Regions from separate parts of the Homo sapiens genome. Here region 2 is linked to region 1. The links are contacts of gene promoters, found by promoter capture Hi-C in blood cells and fetal thymus (Javierre and others, 2016). All regions are on one chromosome and are shown on one strand. The core of a region is centred on a gene start or on the middle of the fragment in contact, and the rest is flanking DNA. Distances in the headings are between cores, read along the strand shown. Region 1 holds the start of TMEM238 (transmembrane protein 238). Region 2 overlaps RPS9 (ribosomal protein S9).

Region 1 (4,282 bases), core at 1,783-4,282:
AATACAAAATTAGCCAGGTGTGGGGGTGCATGCCTGTAATCCCAGCTACTCGGGAAGCTGAGGCAAGAGAATTGCTTGAACGCGGGAGGCAGAGGTTGCAGTGAGCCGAGATTGCGCCACTGCACTCCAGCCTGGACAACAAGAGTGTAACTCCATCTCAAAAAAAAAAAAAAAAAAAAAAAAAGTTAATTATTTACCTACATAGAACGTCCTAGGATAATAGGGTTTAATTCTTTTACCAAAACCCTATTTGAGAGATGAATTCAGTCACCCAACCATCCATGTGCCATTAAATGCATTCATCCACTCATCTGTGTACTTATCATTCAGCCCCAACCATCTATTCAACTACCCATTCACCCATCTACCTATCTATCCAGAGAGCGCACAGAGGCTGGGCAAACTCTGACTGTCCTATGGATAGTCCTATGGACCAGCCGAGGCCCCTGCCCCAAGGAGTTCCCAGGTGTAACCGCAAGTTAAGGTGCCCTGGGGAGGTGACACAGGCACCCTCATTTCTTTTGTTCAGTAGGAGTCTCTGAGGCCTCCCCAGTACCATGCTGCATGGGTGAGGCCGAGGACACAGAGAAGTATCAGGAAAAGCTCTTGCCCCTTTATCAGGCAGGGCTCCCTCTCCAACCATATCCATTCATGGTTCATTGCCCAATTCACCACCTACCCATATCTACCCATTAAACAACCCATCCATCCGTCAATCCAACCACATCCCTGCATCAACCAACCCATGTATTCACCCATCCACCCACCCACCCATCTGTCCATTCACCCGTCCATCCACCCATCCATCTACCCATCCACCTATCCAACCACCCACCCATCTATGCATTCACCCATCCATCCATCAAACAACTCATCCATCCACGCACCCATCGATCTACCCATCCACCCACCCACCCATCTATCAATCTATCATCCATTCACCCATGCATCCATCAACCAACTCATCCATCCATCCACCCATCCATCTACCCATCCACCCATCCAGCCATCCGTTCTTCCATCCATCCTTCCACTTCCCTACCCAACCATCAACCTTTCCTGATTTCACACTTTTTGCTGGGCAATGCTAGGAACAAGGACGCTAGGGACCTAGGTCTTACCCTCAAGGCACTCCCTGTCAGGTGGGAGAGACAGTAACAACATAGACACAGCACATGGCCATATAAGCAGCAAGAGGGGTCGCTCAGACAATATGAAGACCCAGAGAAGACCCAGAGAAATTAAGTTAAATCTTAAACATGTGAGAAGTTTTCTGGGTGGAGTGGAGACAGCCAAGGGCACTCCTGGTGTAGAGAAGAGCAGGAACAGGGACCAACTGGCTATCTGTGGACTAAGAGACACCATTAGTGCAGAGAGGCAGGAGAAATGGGGCCAAAATATGGGGGGTCCACAGGCCAGTGAGTGCTTCAGTTTAACCAAAGGTGAAGAGGGAGCCACAGCAGGTCTTTGAGCAGAGGCAGGCTAGCTGGAAAGGTGTGTTTAGGAAAGAGATAGAAGGTAGAGGGGAAAGGGGAGTGAATGTGTGGTGGCTTCATTTCTCCTGCTGTTGGTCCTTCTTACTCCTCCTTTTCTAGGCCTACAGGTCAGGAAAATCCCAGCTCCTCCTTTCCTAGGCCTACAGGTCAGGAGAATCCCAGCTCCTCTTTTCCTAGGCCTACAGGTCAGGAGAATCCCAGCTCCTCCACCTACGTGTTGTGTGGCCTTGGGCAAATGTGGCGCCTTTCTGCGCTTCAGTTTCCTCCACTGCAGAATGGGGATGGTAATAGTAGTGACCTTGGAGACCAGTTACATGGAGAGGATTAAATGGGGCCTGGTCTGGGCTCAGTGGCTCACGCCTGTAATCCCAGCACTTTGGGAGGCTGAGGAGAGCAAATCGCATGAGCTCAGGAGGTGGGGACCAACCTGGCCCACATGGCAAAACCCCGTCTCTACTAAATATACAAAAATTAGCCCGGCAAGGTGGGGCGCACATGTATTCTCAGCTACTTGGGAGGCTCAGGTGGGAGGACTGCTTGAGCCTAGGAGGTCGAGGCTGCTGTGAGCTGAGATCACGCCACTGCACTCCAGCCTGGGTGACAGTGAGAGATCCTGTCTCAAAACAACCCCAAACGACAACAAAACAAAACAAAACAAAAAATGGGGCCTGGTGTACCTGGAAGCTGGGGCTCTCCCCGTGCGGGGGGCCTAACTGTGTGACTCGACCCCCACACTTCCCATCTCCAGGGGCAGGGTCTCACAGCCTCCCCCACGTATGCACCTGTGCTTGCTGTGTCTGCGGTTCTCCGCCAGAGCCTTCCCGTCCCTGTCTCCACCCCGCCCTGGGACTCTACCTCCCCATGGCCGCTCTCTGTCTCCATCTGTCCATCGCTCCCCCGTCTGTCTCCATTCCCGTCCCTCCCTCGGTCCCTCCGTCTCCCCGCCCTGCCCCGCCCGCCCCTCACCTGGGCCTCACTCGCTGCCCGCGCCCGCCGCCCCGGGCCCGGCCTCGAGCGTGGCGAGCTGCAGGCGCACGCGGCGGGAGCCGGCGGCGGGCGGCGGGGGCGCGCGGGCGGCTCGGCGCGCTCTCCGGGAGCCGGGCGCGGGGCGCTGGCCCGCGGCGGCGGGCGCCGACCAGCGGCGGGAGAGCTTGCGCGCCAGGCGGGCGAGCGCCGAGGGCCGCAGGCCGTAGTCGCGCTCCAGCTCCTGGCGCGAGATCTCGATGTTGCCGGTGTACCAGAGGATCCAGCCCAGCAGGCTCAGGAACACCAGCAGCGCGCCCGAGTAGATGAGCAGGTCCCCGAAGTCGCGGCCGCGCACCTGCAGCTGCGCGAACACGCCGGTCAGCAGCGCCGCCATGCCCGCCACATCCAGCGCCACGGCCAGCAGCAGCGCCATCCGGCAGCGGCCCAGGCCGGCCGCGGGTGCTGGCGCGGCCGCCGGCGCGGACGGTGCACCCGGCGGGCTCCCCTGCGAGGCGCACACCGCTGGCGCCGCCGCCATGGCCCTGCACCGCCGCCGCTGGCGCCCAGAGAGAGCGTTCCGGGGTGCGGCCCGGTCCGGGGCGGGGTCAGGGGACGGCGCCAGGTGTGCCAAGCTCCCGCCTGGTCACCTGAACCGGGCTGGGCGCGAACCGGCGCGGCCGGGGTTACCCTGGTCGTGGTTTCCGTGCAGGGGCTATTGCTCAGAGGCCTGAGCTGGTGGTAGCCAGGCGCACAGCCACGGGTGCCTAGGGCCCGTGCCACCCAGGGAGGTCACATATGGCCAAAAATCAGGGCATTTTAGTGGTGGCAGCATGGGACACTCGGAGCCGGGCGTGGCGTTGTTTCTGCTCAGTGTCCGCCTCCCGAAGCCTGTGCAGATCAGACAGTGCAGATCAGACAAGGCCTTTAGACACCAAGGAGCTCTGGGACGCGAGAACCAGTAGTCGGGGTGATCTAAGAGGGGAAGCTCCGGGTTCCGCGGAAGCTGAGTTTCCTTCACTCAGCGCGTGTCTTCTGGGGTCTCCTGTGTTCAGCGAATGAAGCCACGGGCACAAGGACGGACGAGACCCATCAGGTCCAGAGCGCACCCGTGGAGGAAGCTGGGCGAACCCCGACTGTCCTATGGAGGATAGTCCTATGGACCAGACGAAGCCCCTGCCCCAAGGAGTGCCCGGGTGTAACCGCAAGTTAAGGAGCCCTGGGGAGGTGACACAGGCACCCTCATTCCTTTTGTTCAGTAGGAGTCTCTGAGGCCTCCCCAGCACCATGCCGCGTGGGTGAGGCCGAGGACACAGAGAAATATCAGGCAAGGCTCCTGCCCCCTTAGGGTGGCCCTGACAACGGATCATAACCTCCCAGGGAGCTGATGGGGTGTGACAGGCACACCATAGGCTGGAGGCACAGGTGGAGGGCAGGGAAGAGGACCGGCAAATCTATAGAATCCTAAAGGGAGCCAAGAGAAGCCACATGCAAATCTCCCTCCCTCCAAACAATTCTCCCTTAGAGGGCATCCGCGCTCCCCTGGGGTGGCAGTCAGCGAGAAGTTTCCGTGTAGGTTCTCCCCAGGCTTAAACAGTTTAAGAGTTTTATTTCAAGAAAACCCTGGGGAGGGCGAACTGCAAGAGGGCTGCCAGGATTAGCCGAGGGATTCCGAATGAAGACGGAGTATTTCCGAACATACACACCTCTCCCAAGAGCGTTTCCGGAGGGTTCCGAAAATACCCGAGCGGGCCTCGGCGCCCTCATTGGCCATCACCGCGAGGGCTTACGAAGACCGGAAATATCCAAAGGTGCCGGGGCTA
Region 2 (4,461 bases), core at 901-3,400, 1.2 Mb before region 1:
TTGGACCTTCAGTTTAGTAATGACCAGAGCTAAAGATAGGCCTGGCACACCTGGGCACCCGTCTATATCTTTATATTCTGTTTATGTGGCCTGTTTGCTAGTGGATGAGAGTAGACTATGAAGTGGAATTTCTGGGCTAAGTGATGGTGATAACAGGGTTTGCACATTTGCTTGGTTTATTGTTTTTTTAATTAAGTTTTCTCGTTTTATTTAGTCTTTTGAGACGGAGTCTTGCTCTGTTGCCCAGGCTGGAGTGCCGTGGCGCCATTTCGGCTTACTGCAACCCCCGCCTCCTGGGTTCAAACAATTCTCCTATCTTAGCCTCCCAAGTAGCTGGGACTACAGACAGGCGCACGCCACCACACCTGGCTAATTTTACTTTTGAGACGGAGTCTCGCTCCATTGCCCATGCTGGAGTGTAGTTGTCGCAATCTTGGCTCACTGCAAACTCCGCCTCCAGAGTTCAAGCGATTCTCCTGTCTTAGCCTCCTAAGTAGCTGGAATCACAGGCATGGGCCACCAAGCCTGGCTAATTTTCTATTATTAGTGGAGATGGGTTTTCACCATGTTGTCCAGGCTGGTGCTTGTTTTTTTAAGCTGGTCAAGGACATTTAGGTGGTATTTAGCAAAGGCCTGAACAGGAGAGAACCTGTAAAATGTCTCAGGGAACAGCATTTCAGGTGATGACTTTAGGAGGGCATGCAGATCACATAGACTTAGGCTTACTTTACTAATTGTGGTGAAATACACATTAAATTGAAAATGTACCATCTTAACCATCTTGTTTTAAAATCTACTCTGAGATGCGGTGTTATTGGAGTGCTTTCTACAGCAGATTGGCATGACCAAGATTGGCATTTGTATATCCTGAGACGCTGCTTTTGCCTGAGTTTGGGTAGTCATGATTTATGGTGAAAAGCAGTCTCTACACCTGAGCCCTGACTGTTAGGCATGAGAGTGGTCATCCATGTTAGGCGTTGAGAAAGTCCTGGCGCATGTTTAGCTACAGATTATCACAGTTTGTCCCAGGCTTGCAGATGTTAGAAGCTTTTTCTTTAAATAGGCACAGGATCTTGCAGTGTTGACCAGGATGGTTTCCAACTCCTAACCTCAAGTGATCCATCCACCTCAGCTTTCCAAAGTGCTGGGGTTACAGGTGTAAGCCACCGCACCTGACCCTTTCATTCTTTTCGTCAATTTGTAGACCCCGTTGATAATCTCATGAAAGTGCTGGAGATCCCTCCCCCATAGATACTGATGCTGGGTGGGAATTCATCCCAGGGTTCTGTGGGGAGTGGGCTATAGCTGGTTCTGGTTTTAGGGAGGACTTTCTGGACATAGATCCTAATTGCAATGAAACTTACAGTCATGTGAGAAAGCGGTGCAGGTGTCTGAGGGTTATTTGTGGTTTTCCAAGGCAGAAGTGAAAATTCCCAAGGGGTACACAGTTGTTCAGGTGAGTACACTTTCTAGTAAATGAAGCCATCTAGCCTAGTCAGGGACAGGAAGGAGGAGCTTGGATGTTTGCTCTTTGGTGTAATCCTGCCTTGATTCAGATCCTGCCTTTCCCACTAAGATGTGTGACTAGCGAGATTCTGAGTCTCGTCTGTTAAGACTGAACAGCCGCCAACATTTGGCTGGCAGTTAATAATCAACAGATAGAGGCCAGGCGTGGTGGCTCATGCCTGTAATCCCAGCACTTTGGGAGACCGAGGTGGTCGGATCACTTGAGGTCAGGAGACCTCAAGTCAGAGACCAGCCTGGCCAACGTGGTGAAATTCCATCTCTACGAAAAATACAAAAATTAGCCGAGCATGGTGGTGTGCCTATAATCCCAGCTACTCGGGAGGCTGAGGCAGGAGAATTGATTGAACCTGGGAGACAGAGACTGCAGTGAGCCGAGATCCGCGGCACTGCACTGGGTGACAGCGAGACACAAAACAACACGAACTCCCCCCCCACCCCCCAGCACAACTGTGAAGAAATGTAGGAGTCATGTCCATTTTTCAGATCAGAAATGAAGGCATTGTAATACCTAACTGCCTTGTATGATGACAAGGACCTGTTTCCCACTGAGGTCCTCCCTGGTTTGCATTTTTAAAGCATTTTAAATTCTCTTGGTGCATTGGCCCAGTGGAGCCTCAGCAGTAGGACATGCTTTTGTTGAAGGTGTAAGGTTTATTGTGCTGTTGAAAACTATTGTCTTCATACTTAAAGGTTTTGCCTGTGGCTGACTCTCCTGTTCTTTTTCAGGAGATAGATGGTTCAATAAATGTGGGCCTGAGTGCAGTGGCTCATGCCTGTAATCCCAGCACTTTGGGAGGCAGAGGCAGGCGGATCACCCGAGGTCGGGAGTTTGAGACTAGCCTGACCAAAGTGGAGAAACCCCTTAGTCTCTACTGAAAAAATACAAAATTAGCGGGGCGTGGTGGCGCATGCCTTTAATCCCAGGCTGAGGCAGGAGAATCCCAGGAGGCGGAGTTTGCAGTGAGCCGAGATCACGCCATTGCACTCCAGCCTGGGCAACGAGAGCGAAACTCTGTCTCAAAAATGATAATAAATGTGAAACATTTTTTTAAAATCATGCCTTTGTTTTGCCTAATGGTGACGATCTCACTTTGTCTCCCGGGCTGGAGCACAGTGGCATGGTCGTGGCTCACTGCAGCCTGGACCTCCTGTGCTTAAGTGATCCTCCTCAGCTCTAGTAGCTGGGACCACAATCCACCATGTACCACCATGCCCGGCTAATTTAGTTTTACTTTTTTGTTTGTTTTGGTACAAATGCGGTCTCACTGTGTTGCCGAGGCTAGTTTCAAACTTCTGGACTCAACTGATCCTCCTGCCTCAGCCTCCCAAAATATTGGGTTTATAGGCCAGGCATAAGGGACTGTGCGTGGCTTAAGTTTCCATTTTCTAATGTAAAGACAAAAAGGCGTGAAGTGTCCAAAGAGGTAAATGGTCCCAAACTCATTTTCATTGCCTTTTGGACATGTTTTTGTATTTTGATATTCAGGTGTTTAAATATCCTCTGATGTTGAGTTAAAAAAGAACAAAAATTGAAGCCATAGTATGACATAGGATGCTGGAAATGCACACAGCTGGTGTTTCCATTTTGATTCTCCCTACCTGTAACTGCTCCCTACTGGGAAAACTTTGGGTCCTCACAAAGTGAGCTAGCTTTCTTTCAAACTTTGCTTGGAGGGTAACAGTGCCAGGAATATCAGAAGTGCCTGATGCATGTAGATCTATTTATGAAAGCTTGCTTGAATGGTTTGCTGTAACTAGTAAGAGCCACTTTTTATAAAAGTGCACATAAGGAAAAAAGGTTGAGGTGTTTACCCCAGTCAAGGGGCAGTTGATTTGCTGAAGGCGTGTGGGATTATAGCAGTGAGCGGGAGCCTAGGGGATGGCGTTTGCCCCCAGGGCCCTGGGGCTGTGGGCAAGGGCAGTCCAGAGTATTAGCTAGAAGCCATGGCTTTGGACAGGGTAAGGAGCAAGCCGTCCTGAGCCTGGGGTTGGAAGAAAGGTGTAGTAGGGCATCTGTTGGATATTTTATGCAGTGCATTGTTAGGTTATATACATACTAGATATATTTTTGGTGGAAAATTTTGTACAGAATAGTAAAATGAATGACATGTACCTAGCTGGAAAAATTCTAGTGTTAGAAATTACTTTTCTCTCCTTAAAAGATGTAGATACTGCTATTTATGGCACGGAATGTGATTCAATCTCACATCTGCTTAATCAGAAGAGCTGTCTGGGCTGAGGATATGAACTCTTCAGCACTGTGCTTTGTTACGGTGGTAGTAGCTTAATAGCAGCTGCATTTGGTCTTTTGCAGACTGAGTCCTTGTAAGGAGGTGATTTCCTTTACTCTTGCTAAGAATGTGGAGCGAGGGATGTATGCTCTCAGATGAGGAGGCAGGTGTATTTTGCCCTCCTGTCATCTGCAGTTTACTATGAATGATGACCTGACAACCATAGGGTAGTTTGGTTTTTTGTATTGTTTTGTTTTGTGACAGGGCCTCACTCTGTCGCCCAGGCTGGAGTGCAGTGGCCCCATCTCAGGTCACTGCAACCTCCGCCTCCTGGGTTCAAGCAGTTTTCCTTCCTCAGCCTCCTGAATAGCTGGGATTACAGGCAGTGCGCCAACGGCCTGGCTAATTTTTCGTAATCTTAGTGGAGACGGGCTTTCGCCATGTTGGCCGGGCTGGTCTCTCAAACTCCTGACCTCAAGTGATCCGTCTCGGACTCCCAAAGTGCTGGGATTACAGGTGTGAGCCACCACTCCCAGCCCGTAGGGTGGTTTTGACAGTGACATGGGTCACGGTGATGGCGCTGTACTACTTGTGCCTCACCGCCGCGGCATGGAGCTACCAAGAGGCGGAGCCAGGATTTGAACCCAAGAAGCCTGAGGTCAGAAGGCGGAATCAGTGTTTCCTCCCACTCTTCCCAGGCAAC

Evidence for each region. The method cuts DNA at HindIII sites, captures the fragments that hold promoters and counts their contacts. A CHiCAGO score of 5 or more calls a contact.
Region 2: a contact is called between a fragment that was not itself captured here and the fragment with the promoter of TMEM238 in region 1, in 1 of 17 cell types (non-activated CD4 T cells). The highest score is 5.8, in non-activated CD4 T cells.

The regions. Positions count from the first base shown.
Region 1 is chr19:55,381,260-55,385,541 of GRCh38, forward strand. It overlaps TMEM238 (transmembrane protein 238), which reads right to left and starts at 3,033. Exons shown (of 2, transcript NM_001190764.2): 1 at 2,463-3,033. The coding sequence starts at 3,000. The coding sequence ends at 2,470. RefSeq lists silencers at 2,539-2,628, 2,919-3,258 and enhancers at 2,633-3,595, 3,549-3,618, 3,649-3,718. The HindIII fragment of the contact is 6,498 bases long and covers 1-4,282 here.
Region 2 is chr19:54,201,820-54,206,280 of GRCh38, forward strand. RPS9 (ribosomal protein S9) reads left to right here. Exons shown (of 5, transcript NM_001013.4): 4 at 4,457-4,461. Among named protein-coding and RNA genes, the nearest start is that of RPS9, 3.2 kb to the left of the region's middle. RefSeq lists an enhancer at 4,007-4,461. The HindIII fragment of the contact is 2,211 bases long and covers 1,046-3,256 here.